2 separate regions of the Homo sapiens genome follow, and region 2 is linked to region 1. Evidence: promoter capture Hi-C in 16 types of primary human blood cells and fetal thymus (Javierre and others, 2016). All regions are on one chromosome and are shown on one strand. The core of a region is centred on a gene start or on the middle of the fragment in contact, and the rest is flanking DNA. Distances in the headings are between cores, read along the strand shown.

Region 1 (4,697 bases), core at 1,717-4,216:
AGAAAACATGAAAGACAGCACACACGCTCAAAAAAAGCAGTAATTATTCTGTTACTCTCTATAAACACGAATGGGATAAACATAGCAATCAAAAGTATAAAACCCTCAGATTTGAATAAAGACAATATTCATCAAAAATTTTACAGATCCAAATGATCCATCAAAAACTTATAGGAAGCTTGATTATAAAATTTAGACAACAATAAACCAGTTAAATATGAATCACAATAAGTTAGAGTAGGTATTCTTAACATATGTTAAAAAATTCAAGGAAGATAAATATAAGAGACATTATATACTCATAATAACATATCAGTAAGTCATAATAATCACCAACATAAACGCACCCAACAACAAAACCTCAAAATATATAAAGGAACAAATAACTGAGCATGCAAAAAACAGATTAATAAACAGTTGGAGGTGAATATTCTATCACATTCTTCTTAGAAACTGATAGAGCAAAGAGACAAAATAAGCTGATATATGAGATTTGAATAATATGGTTTATAAGCTCAAACTAGTAAATACATACAAATCTTTATACCCAACAGGGATTATATTCCCTTCAAACACAGATATAACATTTATTAAACCTGACCATATGCTAGGCCTCAGGGGAAGTGACCATAAATTCTCCCCAAATCAATATCATATGATGTATGCTTTCTAAGCATAATGTAAAGAAAAAAATCAATCAATGACGAGGGGTAAAACATACTATACAGGGTAAAATGAAATTTAAAAGAAATTTAAAAATGCTTAGGATCAAATGGTAAAAAGGCAACAAACACAGAGGATAGAGGGGGAGAAGGATGAGGAGGAGAAGAAACAATAATACAAATATGGAAAGAAAAAACAGAATAAAAACAAAAAAGTTGAGGAAATAAACTAAACCTAATTGTTTTTAAAAGACTGGCAAAATAGACAACCTCTGCCAAGACTAATCAGGCAAAATAAGAGTAAAAACTAGCCAAATAAAATACAAAATGAAAAGGAAGAAAAAAACTACATAGTATTTTTAAATTATGAAATAACATCATGAAAAGCTATATGTAATAAATTTTTAAAATATATAAATATGTATATTAAATATAGACGTGCTTGAAGCAGAGCCTAGTACTGAGATACATGGGCATAGTCAGGTATTGCTCGTAAGAATTTAATCATAGGCAGCCATTCTGAAGAGTGAAATTGCAGGACTCACTGGAATCTAGCACGTATATAATCCCACAGCCTAATGAATGTTTCTCACATGTCTACAAGGATGTTCATTGCAGCACTGCTGGGATAACAGGAAGTTGGAAGAAACCTGGAGTTCCTTCACTAGAGGAAAGGTTAAGTAAAATAGAGTAAGAACACAACATGGAATATGATGCAGCAGTTAGAAACTGCAAACTAGATGCAAGAGGTACATAGAGCAAAAATGGACAGATTGAAAAACAGTGTTGAGTAAAACAGGGAAGAAGCAGAGATCTATAGACATATAAATTAAACACACAAGACACTACATTCTGTATTCTGCAAAGACTGTTATAGTCACAGTTTCTCTGAAATCAATTAGATTTTATCTTCCTGAAGTTCCTCACCAACTATATTTTAAGAGGGATCTAATCAAATCCCCCAAAATGTCCCAACAAAGTATACATTTGTCATAGTCCACAAAAAGATCAAGAAGTCACTACTTAAGATAACAATGAATAGGTGCTCTCTCAAATGTAACATGTTCAAAACTGAACTCGTAATTTTCTCTCAAAAAACCTCTCTCACCCCAGACTTCCACATCTTAGCTGACACAAACTCCTTCCCTTTCAAGGCAAATATTTAGAATCAGCCCTGACTTCTCTTTTTTCTTGTACTGCATATCTGATTAATTAGCAAATTCTGCTAGTCCTGCCTTCAAAATATATCTAGAATCTGATCACTTCACACCACCTTCTCTGCTACCACTCTGGCCTGAGCTGCCATTGTGGCTTGCCAAGATTAATACAAGAGCCTGCTGACCGACTCCTCCGCTTCTCTGCTGCTACACAGCAGCCTGTAAAAATTAAGACTGGTCATGTCACTCCTCTGTTCAAAACCTTGCAAAGCTCTCCATTTCACCCAGAGTAAAAGCTGAAATCCTTACTGTGATCAATAAGCCCTGTATGATCTTTAAGCTCCCTCCCTTCTCTCCCCTGGGCTTATTCTGTTCTATCCACCCAAGATTCCTTTGCTGTTGCTTGAACACTCCAGACATACTGCTGCCTCAGGGCCTTTGAAAATACATCACATGACTAACTTTGGCATCTCCTTCAGTCTTCAGTCACATATGCCTTTACAGTGCGATGGCACTGTAGAAGTGTAGGTGATATCACAACTTCCTCAATTCTTTGACTTGTCACAATGAGCATAAATTACTTTTGTAATTTTATAGGACACTCATGGTATGTGTGAGTTAAATGACACAGTATTTGTAAATTTCTTAGCAGAATGTATGGCACATGTAATACTCACTCTGTAGGTTATTGATAAAAACTAAAAACCCTGTAGTTCTCAGCTGGGAATCCTGTAGATGATGATGAAAATGCAGAAAGGACACAAGGAGCTCCCTCTGACTATTTTTTTAAAGGAGCCAAATGTAAGAACACAGAGGGTTAGTTAGCAGCTATCATCTTTACAGGCTAGGCTGAGAGTGGGTTTAACATGGTCAAAGGCATACAAAACATGTTTTTAGCTGACCTGATATAGCAGTGAAGTTTTAGAAGAATGTAAATTTATACAGGGTATCTGTATTTTGCTTTTATATATGACCTGCTATTGTGGGTTAAATTATGTCCCCCAGAAAGACATGTTGAGATCCTAACCCTCAGTACCTATGAATGTGACCCTATCAGAAATAGTGTTTCTGCAGAAACAATCAACTTAAGATGAGGTCATAAATACAATATGACTTATATCCTTATGACAGGAGGGAAATCTATACACAGAAACACACACACACAGGGAGAAAGCCATGTGAAGACAGGCAGAGACTGGGGTAATGCAGCTACAAGGGAATGTCAGAGATTGCTAGCAAACACCAGAAGCTGGAAGAGGCAATTAAGGATTGCTCCCTAGAGCTTTTAGAGGGAGGACGGCTCTGCCACCTGCCTTGTTCTTGGACTCCTAGCCTCCAGAATTGTGAGAGAATAAATTTCTGTTGTTTAAACTATCTAGTTTGGGGCATTTTGTTATCACAGTTCCAGGAAACTAATATGCCTGGGAATAAACTAGTCACAGGTCTGGTTTTACGCTAAAATTCTAGGTGGATGAAGTTTTTCTTCACCACATCCATATTTCCCTGTGTCTACCCCATTTTCTACTTTTTTTTTGAGATGGGGTCTCATTCTGTTGCCCAGGCTGGAATGCAGTAGCACAATCATGGCTCACTGCAGCCTTAACTTCAGGCCCAAGAGATCTTCCTGCTTCAGCCTCTCAAGCAGCTGGGACCACGGACCACAGGCGTGTGCTACCACACCTGGCTAATTTATGTATTTTTAGTAGAGATGGGGTTTTACCACGTTGCCCACGCTGGTCTCAAACTCCTGGGCTCAAGCAATCTGCCCCGCCTCGGCCTCCCAAAGTGCTGGGATTACAGGCGTGAGCCACCATACCTGGCCATTTTCTACCTTTTTTGCATCCACTACTTTGTTCTTTTGAAAGTGGTCTCAATCTTTATTTTTAAATTTTACTTTTATCATCATAAGAAAATACAAGTAGCACATATAATACTCAACATTACCTAAATACAAAAAATAGACAGCTATAATTTTAATGCTAAAGACTTTCTCTATAATCAAGGTTTTTCCTTATGCTTATACAAGTGACTCTCAAGGCATGGTCAGGGAACCCCTGGAGGTATGGTTAGGGAACCCCCAGAATTTTGGTTTTTTTTTTTTTTTTGGAGACAGGGTCTTACTCTGTTGCCTAGGCTGGAGTGCAGTGGCCTGATTACAGCTCACTGCAGCCTTGACCTACCAGGCTCAGGTGATCCTCCCACCTCAGCCTCCTGGGTAGCTGGGGATTACAAGCATGTACCACCATGCCCAACTAATTTTTTTTTTTTTTTTTGGTAGAGATGGGGTTTCATCATGCTGCCCAGGCTAGTGTCCAACTGCTGAGCTCAAGCAATTTGCCTGCCTTGGCCTCCCAAAGTGCTGGGATTACAAGTGTGAGCCACTGAGGAGTGTCTGACATCTTTTCGGGGAGTCCTTAGATCAAAACTATTTTCATAATAATAAAATTTTTCTTTGCCTTTTTCACTCTCCCTCTCCCACTCCAAGAGGTCACCTGTTGGGCAATATCACCATAGACTGAATACAGAAGCAGATATTAGCCTCCAGCCTCCTGCTCATCTGGACACTAGAGAGGTTTGTAAAAGTATAACAGCAATGTCACTCTTCTTATTTTTTTGTTTGAACAATATAGTTAGTTTTCACAAAAATGTTATTTGTATTAACATATAATGTATTTGTAACCATTATTTTAACATCTTTTCAAATTTCTCAGTTTTAATTTTCTAAAATGGTAAATATCAACAGGTAAACGCACACGAAGGTTTGGGGATCCTCAATTATTTTAAAGGTGTTCTGAGACCAAGAAGTTTGAGAACTATTAGTCTATATTAGCATATATTTTTAATTGAAAAAATGGAATCAAATTATACCTATGTTTAT
Region 2 (4,516 bases), core at 42-2,541, 220 kb after region 1:
CTTTGTATATATTTCCTTTCACGTAGAGTTATATGTCAGCATAAGTTGTATAATTTTTTAAATGACATTTAAAATTTGAGATTGTTGTAATGAACACCTATATACCTATTATCCAATTAAAAAAAGTTACAATCCTTTTATACAGTTCCCTAATCCTATTCCCTTATGTTCCTCCCCACACATATATTATTCTACTTTTTTTGAGAGATAGGGTCTCACTTGGCCACCCAGGCTGGAGTGCAGTGACATGATCAAAGCTCACTGTAATTTGAACTCCTGGGCTCAAGTGATCCTCTTGCCTCAACCTCCTGAGTAGCTAGGACCATAGGCACACATCACTGTGCCCAGCTAATTTTAAAATTTTTCTAGAAATGGGGTCTTGATATATTGCCCAGGCTGATCTTGGAACACCTGGGCTCAAGCGATTCTAGCACCTTGGCCTCCCAAGGTGCCTGGATTATAGGTGTGAGCCACACATCTGGCCTGATTTGGTGTTTTAATCCATTGTATGTTTATAGAGTCACTATATATAAAATGATAAAACATTTGTATTGTTTTATGTATTTTTAAACGTTAGTATACAACTTGTTTTGTTCTCTCAACAGGGGTTTTCATAGTATGTTAATATAACCTCTGACTCACAAGTTTTTAAAAGCTGTATGCTCTCCCAGTGTTAACAAACCACAGTATCTGTACTCATTCGCTGTGGTTGGATATTTAGGTTGACTTACGGTTTTGCCTTTTCAAGTCTCTGGAATGAGATTTATTTCCTTTAAAAATTTCTCTTTCTCCTCTGTAAAGCCCCGAAGTAAGGGGCAAATGAGTGTGCGTGGGCAGGCTTTTCTTTACCTTGCCTTTTCCTCACTGGAGATGCTTTCAGTGTCCTGGAACACTGATCTCCTATATTTTGCTCTCCTTTTTCAAAGAACTAAAGTCTTCCCTAAGTCCTTAATTTATACTTAAGAGAGTTATTGCTCCCGGCTATTTCTGTTTAGTATTCTTTTGGGAAACAGGAGGCAAGCCTTCATTTTCAGGTCAAAGTCTGGGATGGAAGAGATCCAGATCAGGTATTCAGACGCTGAGAGTCTAGCAAGTTAGCAGCCCAAAGGAAGGTGACACTTTGTGCTGTTTAGTCAGCAAGATTTTTTGGGATATCCTTGCAGTAAAATAATTCCTTGAAAATTTATTTGGTTAAAGAGCTGGGCATTTTACAAATTTTCCCAGAAGTCATCAATCTTCTAAGATATGCCAACTGGGCTTCCTTAACAGTCTTCTACTAATCAGCATGCTTTAACTGCAGATTGTCCCACACACAGCTCATGTTATGAGAGTCAGTGGCTGATTTGGTATCCGTGATGTTTTTTTTTTTTTTGAGACGGAGTCTTGCTCTGTCGCCCAGGCTGGAGTGCAGTGGTGAGATCTCGGCTCACTGCAACCTCCGCCTCCTGGGTTCAAGCAATTCTCTTGCCTCAGCCTCCTGAGTAGCTGGGACTACAGGTGCACACCACCATGCCTAGCTAATTTTTGTATTTTTAGTAGAGACGGAGTTTCACCATGTTGGCCAGGATGGCCTCGATCTCTTGACCTTGTGATGCACCTGCCTCAGCCTCCCAAAGTGCTGGAATTACAGGCGTGAGCCACTGCGCCCAACCCGTGATGTGTTTTCTAGCGAGTTTGTGTGAAAAAAAATCTGTTTTCTGATACAGTCACACTGCAAAAATGGAAACTGACGTTAACTAATACTCTTTTGTTAGATTATACCAAAACCAGAGAGAAAATATCTTATTAGCCATACTATAGTTTATAAGAACACTGATTCTTAACGTTACTGTTATAATTTCATTTTGTACTGTGCTGTTTTAAAGTCAGATTTAGTTTTGAACTGGATGACATTCTGACCCATGACATTTCTTTACCAGAAACCTATTATCTACATATTAATGCTTCACTGAGATACAAGAGGATTTCCTTCCTACCACTGGCATGCATACTTGCCAAAGCAGTTTAAAACTCATCCTTTCCAGAAAACCTCCCTTGGCTTGACATCTCTTTAAAAGCTATCTTAGGTAAGGCTTGAAGTTTATCTTACAAACAATCTGTGTTGTCCATGGCACATCTTCCTAAACAGGTTTAAGGTGTGCCAAGATACTGATCTTCTTAACCCTTACAACAATTAGCATGCAGCCTTGTCCATTTCCTGCAGTGTGCCTTATTTATTTGTATATTTTCAGACAGGTTCTCACTCTATCACCCAGGTTAGAGTGCAGTGGCACGATCACAGCTGACTGCAGCCTCAACCTGTCCAGGCTCAGGTGATCCTCCCAGCTCAGCTCCTGAGTAGCTGGGACTACAGGCGTACGCCACACCTGGCTAATTTTTGTATTTTTAGTAGAGACAGAGTTTTGCCATGTTGCCTAGGCTGGTCTTGAACTCCTAGACTGAAAGGATCCACCTGCCTCAGCCTCCCGAAGTGCTGGGATTAGAAGTGTGAGCTACTGTGCCCAGCCACAAATATCATTTTCTACATATGTTGTGATGTGACAAGGGTAGGAAAACACTGTTGTTCCATGAGTAGTTTGTAGATTGCTTTAAGAAACGGTTTTCTATTTTCCAAACTCCACAACGCCTAGAACAGCTCTCTCAATACATCTGCTTAAATGTGAATGACCTGACATTAATTTCTAATGCTAACTAGACCTTAAAAATTTAATCGGCTATTTTAATCTTAACCTGTGAATATTTTGCGTATTCTGCAATAGCTAGCACTACTGGTCAAACTTACAATAAAGCTTTTGCATAATACTCAGAATGTCAAATTTGGATATGTCTACACAGCATCTGCCTTTAAGAAGTCCTCAGTTTCAAGCCCCCAAATCTATACTATTCATTCATTCATTCGTTCATTCATTCATTCATTCATTCATTCAGAGATGGAGTTTCACTCTTTGGAGTGCAATGGCGTGATCTTGGCTCACTGCAACCTCTGCCTCCCAGGCTCAAGCAATTGTTTCAGCCTCCCAAGTAGCTGGGATTACAGGTGTGCACCACCACGCCTGGCTAATTTTGTATTTTTTTAGTAGAGATGAGGTTTCACCACGCTGGTCAGGCTGGTCTCAAATTCCTGACCTCAGGTGATCCACCTGCCTCAGCCTCCCAAAGTGCTGGGATTACAGGCATGAGCCACCGTGCCTGGCCCAAAATTTACATTTAAGACTAGCAAGTACACTATGATTCTTTTAAATACTGCATCTTAAGAGAAGTGAACAGAAATACACATCTTTCTTGGGATGTTTCATAACATGCACGCATTACAAAACACCTGTGTTAACTCCTGGCTAAATGTGCCTTTACATTTCATACCCCATAGATGGCAAAGGCGCAAACTGATCATCAGTATGGAAGATCTTTTGAAAGGGTCTTTCATTATTCCAAAGGTTTCAGTGTGGCTACTAAAAGTCACAATGACTTTAACTGTAGAAAGGGCTACCCAAATGTCACACAACTGTCAATAGTTGTCCCTGATTACTTTTCCAAGAATTTCACATTTCAAGAACATTTGCAATGAACGAGAACTTCCAGGACATCTTTTTTTTAATGCTCTTACTACTATTTTAGTTTCCAAAATCCCAAATGAGGAAAAGCCGCATGAATATCTGCATATTTATATAACTTATTAAAATGTAATCATATATCCAAGTGTACTCTGGAAAAGCACCACTCATGCCAGAACTCTTACTTCTATCAGAATTCTTGATTTTAATGTCACAGAGGTGACCTTTCCAATGCTGAGTGGCACAGTTGCTTAAGTCCTCTCCTCTCTCCCCTCAGCCAGTCACTCCGTTGGTCATATTTGTCATTACTAGTAACTCCTCAAAACCTCAATTTTAATTAAGCACACCATTCTCCAATCACCACTTCTTACATTTCCTTTTTCTTTTTTTGAGACAGACTCTCACCCTGTCACCCAGGCTGCAGTGAAGTGGCACAGTCTCCGCTCGTTGTAACTGTCACTTCCTGGGTTCAAAGATTCTCCTGCCTCAGCCTCCTGAGTAGCTGGGACTACAGGCATGTGCCACCATGCCCGGCTAATATTTGTATTTTTAATACAGAAGGGGTTTCATCATATTAGCCAGACTGGTCTTGAACTCCTGACCTTAAATGATCCACTTGCCGTGGCCTCCCAAAGTGCTGGGATTATAGGCGTGAGCCATCGTGGCCAGCCCACCACTTTTTTTTTTTTTTGGGACAGAGTCTCGCTCTGTCGCCAGCCTGGAGTGCAGTGGCACAATCTCGGCTCACTGCAACCTTCGCATCCTGGGTTCAAGCGATTCTCCTGCCTCAGCCTCCCTAGTAGCTGGGACTACAGGCACACCACCACGCCCAGCTAATTTTTGTATTTTTAGTAGAGATGGGGTTGCACCATATTGGCCAGGATGGTCTTGATCTCTGGACCTCATGATCCACCCACCTCAGCCTCCTAAAGTGCTGGGATTACAGGCATGAGCCACTGCGCCCG

Evidence for each region. The method cuts DNA at HindIII sites, captures the fragments that hold promoters and counts their contacts. A CHiCAGO score of 5 or more calls a contact.
Region 2: a fragment that was not itself captured here is called in contact with the fragment with the promoter of ST7-AS2 in region 1 in 1 of 17 cell types (erythroblasts); the score reaches 5.0 in erythroblasts.

What each region holds. Positions count from the first base shown.
Region 1 is chr7:117,143,861-117,148,557 of GRCh38, reverse strand. ST7-AS2 (ST7 antisense RNA 2) reads left to right here and starts at 2,966. Exons shown (of 5, transcript NR_109981.1): 1 at 2,966-3,162; 2 at 4,305-4,391. The region is part of intron 9 of ST7 (suppression of tumorigenicity 7); the gene reads right to left. The HindIII fragment of the contact is 5,952 bases long and covers 181-4,697 here.
Region 2 is chr7:116,921,107-116,925,622 of GRCh38, reverse strand. It overlaps CAPZA2 (capping actin protein of muscle Z-line subunit alpha 2), which reads right to left. Exons shown (of 10, transcript NM_006136.3): 10 at 3,574-4,516. Among named protein-coding and RNA genes, the nearest start is that of ST7, 30 kb to the left of the region's middle. The HindIII fragment of the contact is 3,001 bases long and covers 1-2,791 here.